Regions from separate parts of the Homo sapiens genome. Here regions 1, 2, 3 and 4 are each linked to region 5. Evidence: promoter capture Hi-C in 16 types of primary human blood cells and fetal thymus (Javierre and others, 2016). All regions are on one chromosome and are shown on one strand. Each heading gives the region's core, a stretch centred on a gene start or on the middle of the fragment in contact. The rest is flanking DNA. Distances are from core to core; before and after follow the strand shown. Region 1 holds the start of FOXP3 (forkhead box P3). Region 2 has its middle 94 kb from the start of DGKK. Region 3 overlaps SHROOM4 (shroom family member 4). Region 4 has its middle 64 kb from the start of DGKK. Region 5 holds the start of CLCN5 (chloride voltage-gated channel 5).

Region 1 (2,735 bases), core at 18-2,517, 660 kb after region 5:
AGCACCAAAGAAAGCGGGACCCACACTCGCCAGCTCTGTGATCTTGGGCAAGTTGCTTGACTACTTATACCTCCGTTTCCCTCATCTGTATAACAGGAATACAATAATGATGAGATGGAGCTCAAGGGGCCATGGTGAGGATTGAACATGATCACTTGTGAGACATGTTCAGCACTGTATCTGACCCATGGAAAATTCAAGATAAACATCAGCTACTGAGATGATGGCGGATATTTGGAATCCTAAATCCTTGGAAACTGGGGCTTTTTGAAGTAAAAGACCCCAAAGGCTGAGGGCCTCAGAAGCATCAGGCCATGATGTTCCTGAAACAAGAGGGTCAGGGTCCCAATGGGCCTCTGGGGTTCATCGTGAGGATGGATGCATTAATATTGGGGACCTGCTAGGGACCTTCCCAGTGGGACAGTGGCTGGGTCAGGGCACTCAAGCCCTAAAACGTGATGAGGCGAGACTTTTCTCTCTTTCCTCATTCAGTAACTGTCAGTAGATTCTGGGAGCCAGGGATTCTCCGACTCTTCAAGTCCATGAATTTTAGGGGATGACAGTGGGCTCTCCGCTTTCTCCTCCATGAAGTAACTTACATGCCCCTCACCCTCTGTGGGAGGGGTGTTGCAGGGGGTGCAGAACTCCCCTCGCCGGGTAGTTCAAGCAATGGGGACCATATCAATTCCATCTATAGGGAAACTGAGGCCTGGAGTAGGGCGAGGCCTCTGGGAACCCAGCCCTATTCTGTCTCTTTCCCTGGCATTTCCCATCCACACATAGAGCTTCAGATTCTCTTTCTTTCCCCAGAGACCCTCAAATATCCTCTCACTCACAGAATGGTGTCTCTGCCTGCCTCGGGTTGGCCCTGTGATTTATTTTAGTTCTTTTCCCTTGTTTTTTTTTTTTCAAACTCTATACACTTTTGTTTTAAAAACTGTGGTTTCTCATGAGCCCTATTATCTCATTGATACCTCTCACCTCTGTGGTGAGGGGAAGAAATCATATTTTCAGATGACTCGTAAAGGGCAAAGAAAAAAACCCAAAATTTCAAAATTTCCGTTTAAGTCTCATAATCAAGAAAAGGAGAAACACAGAGAGAGAGAAAAAAAAAACTATGAGAACCCCTCCCCACCCCGTGATTATCAGCGCACACACTCATCGAAAAAAATTTGGATTATTAGAAGAGAGAGGTCTGCGGCTTCCACACCGTACAGCGTGGTTTTTCTTCTCGGTATAAAAGCAAAGTTGTTTTTGATACGTGACAGTTTCCCACAAGCCAGGCTGATCCTTTTCTGTCAGTCCACTTCACCAAGGTGAGTGTCCCTGCTCTCCCCTACCAGATGTGGGCCCCATTGGAGGAGATGGCAGGGAGGTAGGCACGGCGGGGGGGTCAGGGGCCCTCTGGTACAGTGGGATGTACCCAGCTACCGTGATTCCAGCCAGGTAAGGTCTTTAAAAAAATAATAGAATAAATGGCAGAAGACTTAAAGGTGAAGTACTTAATGCATGGGCAGGGGCAAAAATAAATGAATTCATCAATTGATACGTAGATGGATAGGATTTTTAAAATATGTCAGCTGCCAGTCTTTATGGATTTCAGAGCTTTGAACAACTTGAAATGCTGTCCAGGTGCAACTGAAAATTTCAACTGCATCTCTCTCATCTCTTTGTCTCTTAGCTCTTGATGCCTCTCATCCTTCTCTGTCTCTCTGCTCACCCTGTCTTGCTCTTTTACATGTTTCTCTGCCTCTCTTTCTCCCGCCATCTGTCTGTCGCTACACTCAGACTCTCTTTCCCCGCATCTCTCCTGGCCTCTGACCATCTCCCCTATCTCTGTCTCCTCCATCTTGACCACACTCCATCGATCTCCTTTCCTCCATCTCTCCCGCTCTCTTTTCTTGCCTTCCCCCACCTGCCTTCCCAGCCAGCATCCAGCCTAGAGCTTTGTACACAGCTGGCGTTTAATAATAGTAATGTCGCCGAGGACCTTTACATTTTATGAGAGTGAGCATCAGTTCTGTTCACCCTAGTAGCAGGAGGATTGCAAGGTGCCGGGGCAAGCTGAGCACTTAACTGAACTTTGCTTGTATCGCTTTAGAGGAGACCCTTGGGGCGGGGGGGCAGGGAGCACTTCACACCATTGTCAACCGTAGTTTAGCTGTGTGGACCTACCCCAGGACTGCATGTGTGTGACCAGAGTCCATATTCAGGAAGCAAACAGGTTGTTCAGGGCTGGGGTGAGCTCGATTCTGCAGGCTTAGCACAGCGTTTGGCACAAAGTAAGTGCTCACGAAGTGTTAGCTATTAGTATTTCTGTAACCAAATTAGAATCATGCTATATATTGGTTTTGTTCCTGCTTTATTCAATTAACAGTAGTGTTTTTGAAGCTTACTAAAAATTGTTTGAACACATGATCTTTCATGATGGACAAGACTGTCCTCACATCAGCATGAACTTTGATTGATTTGACCAAGTGCCGATTGTTGGACATTCCGGTTGTTTCTCGTTTTTTTCTATAAACATCCCTGACTGCTTCCTTGGATTCCTGAAAAGGGAGTTGCTGGGGCAAAGGGGGCGTGCATTTTTAAAGTTTATGACCCTCTCTGCTAATTCTCCTTCCAAAAGGTTGTCCTATTTTATGCTCCCTCTACTTAAGCTAACCCTAGGTGAGTATTATTATGTTTTAATTATTTCCCAACATGACAGGTAAGAAAAACACATTATCACATTG
Region 2 (2,700 bases), core at 181-2,680, 640 kb before region 5:
ATCATTTTATTAGGTTTTTTCATTGGTTACTGTTTCTAGTTTCCATTCCAGTAACCTATCCACATCCTGCCTTACTCTGGCAAGCCCACGCATCTCTGGCCCCAAAGACCTGGCCAGCTGTCTGAATCACGTATGCTGCTGATGGCTTTGAACATCATCCTTTGCCCTCCTAGTAGAACATCTGTGATGGGCCTCTGCCACTGGAACAACATGTATTCTACACACTCTGGTTGAAGGCACCCATGGCCAGGTTTGTGGGTGATTGTGAATAAGCCCCCATACCCTGCTTCTCTGTGGAACTTGAAATGCAGCGGGTGGCCATGGCAATCACACGTTGCCTCTCTCCCCCTCCCGCTTATCCAGGGACATCAGGTTACAAGAGAACAGGCTGTTCTTCTGTCTTAGTAATGGGGTGGAGGAAGGGGGAAAGGCCAGCTGTATGCATATGAGTCGCATATGAGCTGCATATGAACCTCAGGTGAATTTGTTGTTATGGAAGTTGTTTTGCTTTTTTTTTTTTTCATACCATCAGCAACTGAAGCTGATTATGAGCCTAAGCAAGGCTGGTAATGTGGCTACTTGCTAATGATCACCCTAAAAGCAATAGTTAATGTTTATTAAACACTATGCACTGTGTTAAAGTGCTTATATATGGATGATCTTATTTAATCTCCACAGCAACCCTTTGAGACAGGGTCTATTTTTATCATCTTTACTTTTCAGATACAAAAACTGGAGGCCCAGAGAGGTGAAGTGACCTGTCTCAAGGCAGCAGGAGGAGAAGCCCAAGAAATCTGGCTCCCAAGATTGTACTTTTCACCCGATCTCTAGATTTAGTCCTAGAGATACAAGAGACCTGAAAGATCACCCAATCCAACTCCCTTATGCTATCAATAGGCGAAACTGAGAGCCAGCTAGGGAAAGGAATGTTTTTCTGAGCCATGAGCATTTTTTAAGAACATTTGTTTAACAAAAAATTTTAAGCATCTACCAATGCCAGACCCTGTGCTAGGTGCTGGGGATATCCAGTGCTTTTTTTAAAAGACAAAAATCTTGCCCTCATGAAGCTTATATTGCAGAGGGAGAGAAAGACTATAAACAAATTAATGAAATAAATGTGGTGTATTAGATGTTGATGAGTACTATAAGAAAAATGAAATGAGGAAGAGGCATAAGGAGTATGGATAACTTTAATTTTAAATAGGGTAGTGAGGGAAGATCTCACTGAAAAGGGACATAATTTGAATTAAGACCTGAAGGAGGTAAGGGAGTAAATTATTTGAATGTTTTGGGGAAGATTTTTCCAGGCAGACATAACAGTGTGGCTGGAACAGAGTGAGCATGAGGAAAAGTCGTAGGATATGATGTTGTAGAGCTAACGAGGGAACAAACCATGCAGGCACTTGTAAGTCATTGTAAGGATTTTTTTTCATTTTGTTAAGTATTTATTGATCAGCCTTTTTGCAATAGACACAGTTCTAATTACTCAGGATACTGTGTTGAGTACTTGCATTTAAACTCCCAGATCTCATTTTTTTAAACCTACATACATCAACAGTACATAGCCATCATGCCAAAAACAGTTGATACATTAAAAGGAGACATTCTCCAGACCAATGGAGACAATTCAACAAAATGTATGAGTGAACAAGGAGTCCTAGCTCTCAATTTGTTGTTACCTATATGTGAAATATTGGAGATACCATTTAGCCTACCAAGGCCTTAACATTTAACTATATGCTCTTCATATTTATACTTATTTAAGATCTAACTAGCTGCTCTTTAAAGCTTGTAACAAACAGAAATTTAACTAGATGATTTTTCAGGCTTATTTCAAGTAAAAAGAAACTTAAAGTTTTTCTTTTAATCTCTCAAATCAGTGGTTTTCAAAGTGTGGTCCCCTACCAGAAGCCTAGAAATTTGTTAAAATGCAAATTTTAGACCTCACCCTAGACATACTGAACCACATACCCTGGGGCAGGGAGTGTAGCAATCTTTGTTTTAACAAGTTCTGATGGGTACTAGAGTTTCCCAACCACCTCCTGGACATATATGATATATTTAATAGTAAATATATGTATGGATAACTTTTCTTTTTTATTTTTCCATAAGTTATTGGGGTACACAGGGTATTTGGTTACATGAGTAAGTCTTTTTTTTTTTTTTTTTTTTTTTTTTTTGAGATGGAATCTTACTCTGTCACCCAGGCTGGAGTGCAAGTGGTGCGATCTTGGCTCACTGCAACCTCCAACTCCCAGGTTCAAGTGATTCTCCTGCCTTAGCCTCCCAAGTAGCTGGGATTACAGGTGCCCACAACCATGCCCAGCTAATTTTTTAAAAATATTTTTAGTAGAGAGAGGGTTTCACCAAGTTGGCCAGGCTGCTCTTGAACTCCTGAGCTCAGGTGATCTGGCCTCCTCGGCCTCCCAAAGTGCTGGGATTACAGGTGTGAGCCACCACGCCTGGCCGAGTAAGTTCTTCAGTGGGATTTGTGAGATTTTGGTGCACCCATTACCCATATATACACTGCACCATATTTGTAGTCTTTCATCCCTCACCCCCTTCCCACTCTTCCCCCCAAGTCCCCAAAGTCCATTGTATCATTCTTATGCCTTTGTGTCGTCATAGCTCAGCTCCCACATATCAGTAAGAACATACAAGTTTAGTTTTACATTTCTGAGTTACATCACTTAGAATAAT
Region 3 (2,748 bases), core at 64-2,563, 760 kb before region 5:
AGAACGCCTGTTTATCTCTGCCATCTCCACACAAGCCTGCACTTTATGTTATGGCCACATTCAACTGCTTATATTTCTCCAATGTATTCGTCAGAGTTCTCTAGAGGGACAGAACTAATAGGATATATATATGCACACACACATATATATAAAGGGGAGCTTATTAAGTATTAACTTACATGATCACAAGGTCTCACAATAGGCCATCTGCAAGCTGAGGAGCAAGGAGAGCCAGTCTGAGTCCCAAAGCTGAAGAAATTGGAGTCTGATGTTCGAGGGCAGGAAGCATCCAGCATGGCAGAAAGATGTAGGCTGGGAGGCTAGGCCAGTCTCTGCTTCTCACATTTTTCTGCCTGCTTTATATTTGCTGGCAGCTGATTAGATTGTGCCCACCAGATGAAGGGTGGTTCTGCCTTCCCCAGCCCACTGACTCAAATGTTAATTTCTTTTGGCAACACCCACACAGACACACCCAGGATCAATACTTTGTATCCTTCAATCCAATCAAGTTGACACTCAGTATTAACCATCACATCCAGCTACAACATATTCTCTCATATCTCTGTGCCTTTTCACATTCTGCTCCTTCTTCCCAAAATGATGACTGCTCCTTCCTCTTCTTTGTTTAGCTAACTCTTATTCAACACTCAAGACTTGACCTAAGCTTTATCACTTCTAAGAAGTGTTAGGGTTGATATCCCCAGACTGTATTAAGCTTCCTCCCATAAACAACACCCTTTAATTTCCTCTATCTAGAATCGTAACAGCCTGTTTACTTGTCTATTTCCCCCCTGTAAATTTTGGGCAGTGTCCATGTGTTGTTTTTCCTCCTATCTTAAGTATAGTGATCATAGTGCTTAGCAGGGTTACATGCTCGATACTCATTGAATAGCTAATTGAATGGAATGAATGTATGCCAGGCAAGGGCAGTAAGGGTTATTGCAGTGAGGATTAGAGGCTGAGACTTTTAGGGGTATTGGGTTGTCAGGCATCCAAATACTTGAAAGCTGAGATAGTGGATTCAGCAAAGGAAAGAGATAGAGTCAAAGATGAGTGCAAGGTTTCTTGCCAAATTGGATTGAGTTAAAAGATACTAGTTACAAATGCTATTTATAAGAACTAGCATTTATTGAGTGCCTCTTAGACACTGAGCATTTGACTAGGTACTTTATATGCTTTATATCAAAAAGAAACAAAATAATGAGCTAGTTTTAGACATGTGGAATTTGAAGCATCTGTAAGACGTCCAAATATAAAGGACGAGTAGACAGTTGTAACTATGGTTCTTGGGTACACAAAGAAAAAAATGACTCAATAATTAAATTGAAAGTTATTTGGGTCGATAGTAATTGAAGCCATTGGGATGGATGGGATCTTCCAGAAACAGTAATGTAGGGAGGAAAAGAAGACGATCAGGGACCAGATTCTGGGGGACATATGTGAGCTAAATGCAAAGAGGGGAACCATTCATTCATTCATCTAACAAATATTTACTAGAGCCATGGTCTGTGTCGGGTACTATTTTAGGAACTGGGGGTATATCAGTGAACAAAATAGCCTTTTCCCTCATGGAGCTGATATTCTAACAGGAATGGGAGAAGTAGACAATAATCACAAATACGCAAACATGTTATATCCATTACTGGTAAGTGCTATAAAGGAAAATAAAGCAATGCAAAGGCATATAAAATGACTAAATGTGGGTGTGGTAGGAGCAGCAGGGGCAGGGGAGACTTTAGCTCATTCAGGGAAGACCACTATGAAGATATTTGAACCAAGAGTTAAATGATAAGAAAGAGGCAGCCATATAAAGATCTGGGGAGAAGAGCATTCCAGCCAGAAGAATATCAAGTACAAGAGCTCTTAAATGGAAAAATACATGATGTATTCAAGGGTCAGAAAGAAAGCTTTAAAACTGGAGTGTGGTAAGCAAAGGAAGCATGAAAGGAGAGGAAGCCAGGCATATAATCACACAGGGCCTTGTAGGCTCTGGTAAGAAGTTCAAATGTGTACAAATGTATTCTATTTGCAGAAGGAAGCTGTTAGAGAGTTCTAAGCAGAACAGTGGTATGATTAGTTTTGGATTGATAGATGATCACCGTGGCTGCTGTATGGGAAACAGACTGTAGGGGGCAGAGAGGAAGCAGGAAAACTTGTTAGGAGGCTACTTGGAATAATTCAAGCAAGAGATGGTAATGAGTCGGATTTGGATTTTAGTGATGGAGATGGTAAAAAGTTGTTAGATTTAGGATTTGTTTTGGAGGACTTGCTGATGGATCAAGTGTGAATTGGGCAGGGCTGTGGTAGGGAATGGGTAGGCAAGGACTAAATGCTTCCTTGGGTTTTGACCTGAATAACTGGGTGGTACCATTTACTGAGGCGAGAAAGACTGGAGGAGAAACAAGTTTTATGGGTAACGGGAAGAAGTAGGAAAGAAGTAGCTTGGTTTTATACACATTAACTTTGTAAATGTAATGACATGTCTATTGGACAGCTACATGCTAATGTTAACTAAGAAATTAGGTAGAAGAGTCTAGAATTGAGAAAATAGGTCAAGGTTAAATATTTAAATTTTGGAGTCACCCTCTGATAAAGCTTTGACACCAGGTGAGAACATTAATGGGTTAAGTATATTATAAAATGGTATTAATATAAAAATTCCTGAATTTGATAATAGTACTGTAATTGTATAAGATAATTTCTCTCCTTAGGAAAGACAAACTGAAGTATTTAGAGGTAAAGGGGCAT
Region 4 (2,700 bases), core at 140-2,639, 610 kb before region 5:
GTTAAGGCAATCCTGTCAATACCACTACGTGATTTCTATTATTATCTCTATACTATGGTTTGGATATGGTTTGTCCCCTCAAAAACTCATGTTGAAATTTAATTGCCATTGTGATGGTATTGGCGGATGGGACCTTTCAGAGATGATTAGGCCATGAGGGTACTGCCTTCATAAATAGATTAATGCCACTACCGTGGTAGTGGATTTGTTACAAAAGGATGAGTACAACCCCCTTTTGCCTCTCTCTCTCTCGCCCTCTTTTCCTCTTCCACCTTCCACCATGGGATGAGGCAGCGAGAAGGTTCTCATAAGATGCCAGCTCCTTGGTCTTGGACTTCCCAGCCTCCAGAACTGTGAGGAAATAAATTTCTGTTCATTATAAATTCCCTAGTCTCAAGTATTATGTTATACCAGTACAAAATGGACTAAGACACCCTATTGTATACACAAGGAAACTAAGGCACAGAGAAGCAAAATCCCTTGCCTAAGATCATATGGCTGGTTAGTGGAAGAGTTCATATTGGAACCCAGCTCTTCAGGACCCTGAAGCTTGCACAGTATAAACTGTTGAAATGAACTTCAGTTGAGAGTACAGGGAATAACACAAACAAGGTTCAGAATTGGAAACAAAAGACAAATATGGGGAACTGTAAATATTCTAGCTGGTTTGTGGGCTTGCAGAAGCTTCCATAGCAGGAAGACATCTGAATGCAGATGGCGTGAAATGCCAAACAGAGAAGCATGAACTTTATTTAGTAGACATGTATTGGAGTGACATGATGAATGTATCCTTTTGAGAATATTAATCAAGTGCTACTGTGCAAGATGGATTCGAGGGGAAGAGACTGAAGGACAGGAATAAAGTCAAGGCCCTTGATGCTGATCAGCAATCTTTTTTTTCTCAAACCTCACTCTCTCCTTCCTCTTAGCAGATTCCAAGTTTTTAACACTTTCCTTCAACCCTTTAACCACCCCCATTGCTTGAATTTTTATCAGCTAAGCTTTTTTGAGAAATTTAGAGGACTTCGGTTGGAATATCTTTCCATTCTTGGCCTTCTACTGCCAAATTTATCTCTAGCTTACCCCCATCCTGTTCTCATTGGTAGTAATAACTACCATTTTTATCATTTACTCTTTCATGTAATCCTTACAACTACATTGTGAGAAAGGTTTAGTTATCCTCAATTTGTAACTGAGAAAATGGATATTTGGAGTGATTAAGTGCTTGTCAGGTTTACCCAGATAGCAAATGGCAGCGCTGAGATTTGAATCTAGGCCTATTTGATTTCAAGATCACCCTCATCACTACTGTAGTCTGAGAGTGAGCAACGACTGCACCACTCTCCTCTTGAGTTCCATTTTATCTTCGCCTTCTATCTCCTTAGGGTCCCTCTCCAGCAACTATCCCGTCTTTCTCCTGTAAAGTCAACTTATCTGTTCCCGTGGACTTTTTCCTCTCAGTAAATATACACCCTAAGCTCTCATCTGCTAAAGAACAATATTAAATTAACAAGAGTCAACTTCACCCATGTTGTTCCTCATAAACATCATCCTGTTACTCTTTATTCCAAATGTCTGTAAATATTTGCCTATTCTGTCTCTACTTCCTCACTTCCCCCACTGAAATCTGGTTTCAGTCTCAATACTACCTGATAGCACTTTTGCTAGAGTCACAAAATTGACCAATCCTATTTCATCCCTAATATTATCTGGTCTCTCTGTTTCCGGTACTCTCCTTCATGTCACTCTTCCACTCTGTCCTATATTCTAAGCTTCCAAACCACTACATTACTTCAGATTCCCATCACCTCTTTTCTGGGTAAATCTCCTCTCTCTACTCTTGCCATCTCCAATCCATTCTCCACATTGTCTGTAAGAGTAAACTTTCTAAAATGTAAATGTAACCATGTTACTGTCTGCATTAGTCCATTCTCTCATTGCTATAAAGAAATACCTAAGACTGAATAATTTATAAAGAAAAGAAGTTTAATTAGCTCATGGTTCTACAGAGTATACAGGAAGTATAGCAGCTTCTGCTTCTGGGGGGGCTTCAGGATGCTTCCAATCATGATGGAAGGCAAAGGGGGAGCGAGGCATCTCACATGGCTAACGCAGGAGGAAAAGAGAGAGAGGGGAGGTGCTACATACTGTTAAACAACCAGATCTCACAAGAAATCACTCACTATTTCAACACAGCACCAAGGGAGATGGTGCTAAACCATTCATAAGTAGCCACCCCCATGATCAAATCACCTCCCCCAAAGCCCTACCTCCAACATTGGGGATTACAATTGATATGAAATTTGGGCGGGGAGTGGGAACGCGGATCTAAACTATATCACTATCCTACTTAAAACCCTTCAATTCAAATACAGAACTACATAGTAGGTAGTATATAGCTCTTATAGAATTATGGCCTTTGTTTAGGCCACATCTTCCCCCTCTTTTTCCTGTACACTCTTAAGTTCTAGCCATATTGAGTGCCTTACTTTCTCATATCCTCATGCCTTTACAAGTGCTCTTCTTCCTCTGTTTTATACATTTCTTCTCCTTGGCCATTGGTTGAACTTCTCTTCTTTCATGACTTAGTTCATTTATTCTGCCATTCCTGCAACTTCTCCACCCCAACTCTTCCCCATGTTCCAATCCCCCAAACAGTTTGTTGCTTTGCCCTCTATTTTAATAAAATGCCTCTAATAG
Region 5 (2,700 bases), core at 181-2,680:
GCATACAAGCCAATCTGTTTTTTCTAAAAGTCTTCACCTTTTTGACCTGGTGAACATCAAAGTAGATTGTTATTTCCATATCTTTTATACAACCAACACCTCCACCTCCTAAGTGAAAGTGCTAAAGCACAAACACTGAAGGCTAATACTAGCTTGAGAATCGTGTTGGCCTTCTTTAATGACAAAAGGGTTAATGTGTACACCAGTCCCAAAACACCAACAGAGAAAAGACAGTGCTTTGGACAAGGAAAAGTTCGCGAAGTCCAAGAAAACTAGGAACTCACAAACTCCTAGGGTGAATTCAGCAGGAAAAAGCGCTCCGATGACTTCTCTGAGACCTGGGACAGTCTGTTTTGATTTGCCTTTTTTCTTCTCCTATTTCGCGTGCAGTTAAGAAGTAATGATCATCGTCCCGTGGGACTAGGCGAAATTTAACATCCCTGAAGTTAAACCCGAGCAGTTGCTAATAAATGTATGAAGTTTATGTAAAGTTGATTCGTGCTGGTTTTTTATGCTCCAAACTTCTAGATTTCCCTCACTTACTCGGGGCAGCTTCCACTGACGTTATCGCACGGGCACAGGTACAACTTCACTGGGAACTCCAGGCAACTGATTTGCTCTGAAATGTTAATCAAAGGAAACGTGCGTCAATGTAAAGGCAAAGCTTTTCCCGTGTGGATCAAGGCGCTCAAGAGCAAGGCTCGAAAGTCTGGAGAGAACCAGCTACGCGCGTTAAGTGGCAAAAGGAAAACAGCGCAGCAACTACTTTTCCGAGAGTTTCTCCACTTTGCTAAGACCCATACAAAACCAGCGGCAAGTCCAGAGCCGGAGGGAGAAGAGCCGGGCCTCGGCTGAGCTTTGCCAGCCTAAGTCACCCTACCCCAGTCCGGGAAAGGGGACGCAGGCGGCTAAACACTCCGATTCAAAAGCGGGGCGGGCTTGGCGCCGCTCCGCAAGGAAACTTCGCTCGGGCAACCCAGGGACCATAACTCGGAGAACAGGGCTGGGCTCCCGGGAAGACGCCGCTCAGCACTGGCTGGAACTAGCCTGTCTACCTCCTCTAAGCGCCGGGCTGCCAACGCCGGGCGCGGGGAAGCCCCATCTCCGGGGGTCCAAGCCAGCGGGATTGCGCTTCCCCTGTGTCGCTGCGCTTAGGGGGTGCTCCGGGGGTGGGCCGGGGGCCAGCGGCCCGCCAAGGACCTGTTGGGGAAGGGACAGCCCGTTTGCCTTTACCTGTCGCCGAGGTCCGGAGCGGCGGAGCCCGTGTCCGCCGCCGGTGGGCAGCGCGCTCGGTCGGCTCTGGCGTCCAGGACACCAAGTTGAGTGAGCGCCCCACGTAGCCGGCAGAGCTTCATTCACACAGCCCAGCCGGGGAGGAGGGGGAGCGAAGCGGGCGCGCGGCTCATGTGACAGGGCGCCTCGCGAGTATCGGCTCAGCCCAGCCAGCGTCTGCGCGTGCGCGCCACGCCGAGCTCACACCCGGCACCTCTACCCAGCCGAGATGAGGGGAGGCCCGCCGGGGAGGAGCTGCCAGGAGGAGTTTCAACTTGCGCAGCCGCAGTACGTCGGCCCCGCTCGCTGCCATATTTAATGAGGACTGGGCGGGCGGGTCCTATCCCAGTGCTGGGCGTGTCAGTTGCCTTTGAAAACGCAATGCCCCATTGTGTTTCACTATTTCCAGCTTGCAGTGCCTTTTTTTGCTGGGGAGAAGGTTTGTCCTTAGAATGAAACTGTCTATCCTGAGCTTTCGGCCCACAGAGTAATTAGTAGTAGAAATCTAATACTAATAACATTAGATCACATAATTTGAGCTGCTTCTTATGTGCCAGGCACTCTCCTAACCCCTTTACTTTTTTCGTCTCATTTGGTGTTCACAATAACCCCGAGGGTTATTTCTCCATTTTTACTCATAAAAATACACAGGCACAGAAAGGTTAAGTAACTTGTCTAAACTCATATAATAGTAGGAATAGGAATAGTGATCAAACGTAGTGATACTTTTAACAGCCAACTTGATGTTTCCAGCAACGCTGCAAAAACTATACTGCAGTTGTTAGTACTGTATTATCTCCATATTAATCATTACAAAACAGAGGCTCAGAAAAGCTGAAGTCACAGGACTAGTACGTGGTAGAACTGGGAATCCAACCTAGGTCTAACTTACTCCAAAGCCCTTACCCTAGGTTTGAAAGAAACAGCACACCGTTTTGCAGAAGAGAAAACTTAGGCCAAATGGGGTGCACTGACTCACTTAAGATGATCCAGCTAATTAGTTCTTGGCAGACCTGAGACTGGAATCCATATAATCCAAGTAATCTAACTAGAACCAGGGTACTCTACTGCAGTGAACAATTTGGAATGCCTACTTTGGACAAGCTAAGTGGTCAGGGATTTAAAAACCCCTATCCTAGCCCAATCAGCATAAGGCTACCGGGGACAAATTTGTAATCCGACATAGTCAGGCTTTGACCCATTGCAATATGAGAGACTGCACACGGTAGGCATTTCATCAAACAGAAAAACATGGAGTCATTATAGGATTGGAGAGAAGAGTGGAGTTTAGGTGAATTTTAAACAAAGCAGTGTTTTTGGTAAGCTCAAAGCAAAGCAGTACTGTCATTTGGGGTCACCATCAGGTCTGAACTGCAAAGTGAACCCAGAGTTGTGTTTCCTTGGGAACCACAAAATAAAGATAGATGT

What was found. The method cuts DNA at HindIII sites, captures the fragments that hold promoters and counts their contacts. A CHiCAGO score of 5 or more calls a contact.
Region 1: the fragment with the promoter of FOXP3 here is called in contact with the fragment with the promoter of CLCN5 in region 5 in 3 of 17 cell types (activated CD4 T cells, monocytes and fetal thymus); the score reaches 7.2 in activated CD4 T cells.
Region 2: a contact is called between a fragment that was not itself captured here and the fragment with the promoter of CLCN5 in region 5, in 10 of 17 cell types (total B cells, naive B cells, total CD4 T cells and 7 more). The highest score is 12.6, in total B cells.
Region 3: a contact is called between a fragment that was not itself captured here and the fragment with the promoter of CLCN5 in region 5, in 3 of 17 cell types (endothelial precursors, total B cells and M2 macrophages). The highest score is 7.6, in endothelial precursors.
Region 4: a fragment that was not itself captured here is called in contact with the fragment with the promoter of CLCN5 in region 5 in 1 of 17 cell types (naive B cells); the score reaches 5.2 in naive B cells.

The regions. Positions count from the first base shown.
Region 1 is chrX:49,263,242-49,265,976 of GRCh38, reverse strand. FOXP3 (forkhead box P3) reads left to right here and starts at 1,267. Exons shown (of 12, transcript NM_014009.4): 1 at 1,267-1,316. The HindIII fragment of the contact is 2,410 bases long and covers 1-2,393 here.
Region 2 is chrX:50,563,602-50,566,301 of GRCh38, reverse strand. No RefSeq gene overlaps it. Among named protein-coding and RNA genes, the nearest start is that of DGKK, 94 kb to the right of the region's middle. The HindIII fragment of the contact is 721 bases long and covers 1,070-1,790 here.
Region 3 is chrX:50,680,570-50,683,317 of GRCh38, reverse strand. The region is part of intron 2 of SHROOM4 (shroom family member 4); the gene reads left to right. Among named protein-coding and RNA genes, the nearest start is that of SHROOM4, 130 kb to the left of the region's middle. The HindIII fragment of the contact is 1,192 bases long and covers 718-1,909 here.
Region 4 is chrX:50,532,978-50,535,677 of GRCh38, reverse strand. No RefSeq gene overlaps it. Among named protein-coding and RNA genes, the nearest start is that of DGKK, 64 kb to the right of the region's middle. The HindIII fragment of the contact is 771 bases long and covers 1,004-1,774 here.
Region 5 is chrX:49,921,326-49,924,025 of GRCh38, reverse strand. It overlaps CLCN5 (chloride voltage-gated channel 5), which reads right to left and starts at 1,430. Exons shown (of 15, transcript NM_001127898.4): 1 at 1,234-1,430; 2 at 544-619. RefSeq lists a silencer at 1,119-1,168. The HindIII fragment of the contact is 4,286 bases long and covers 667-2,700 here.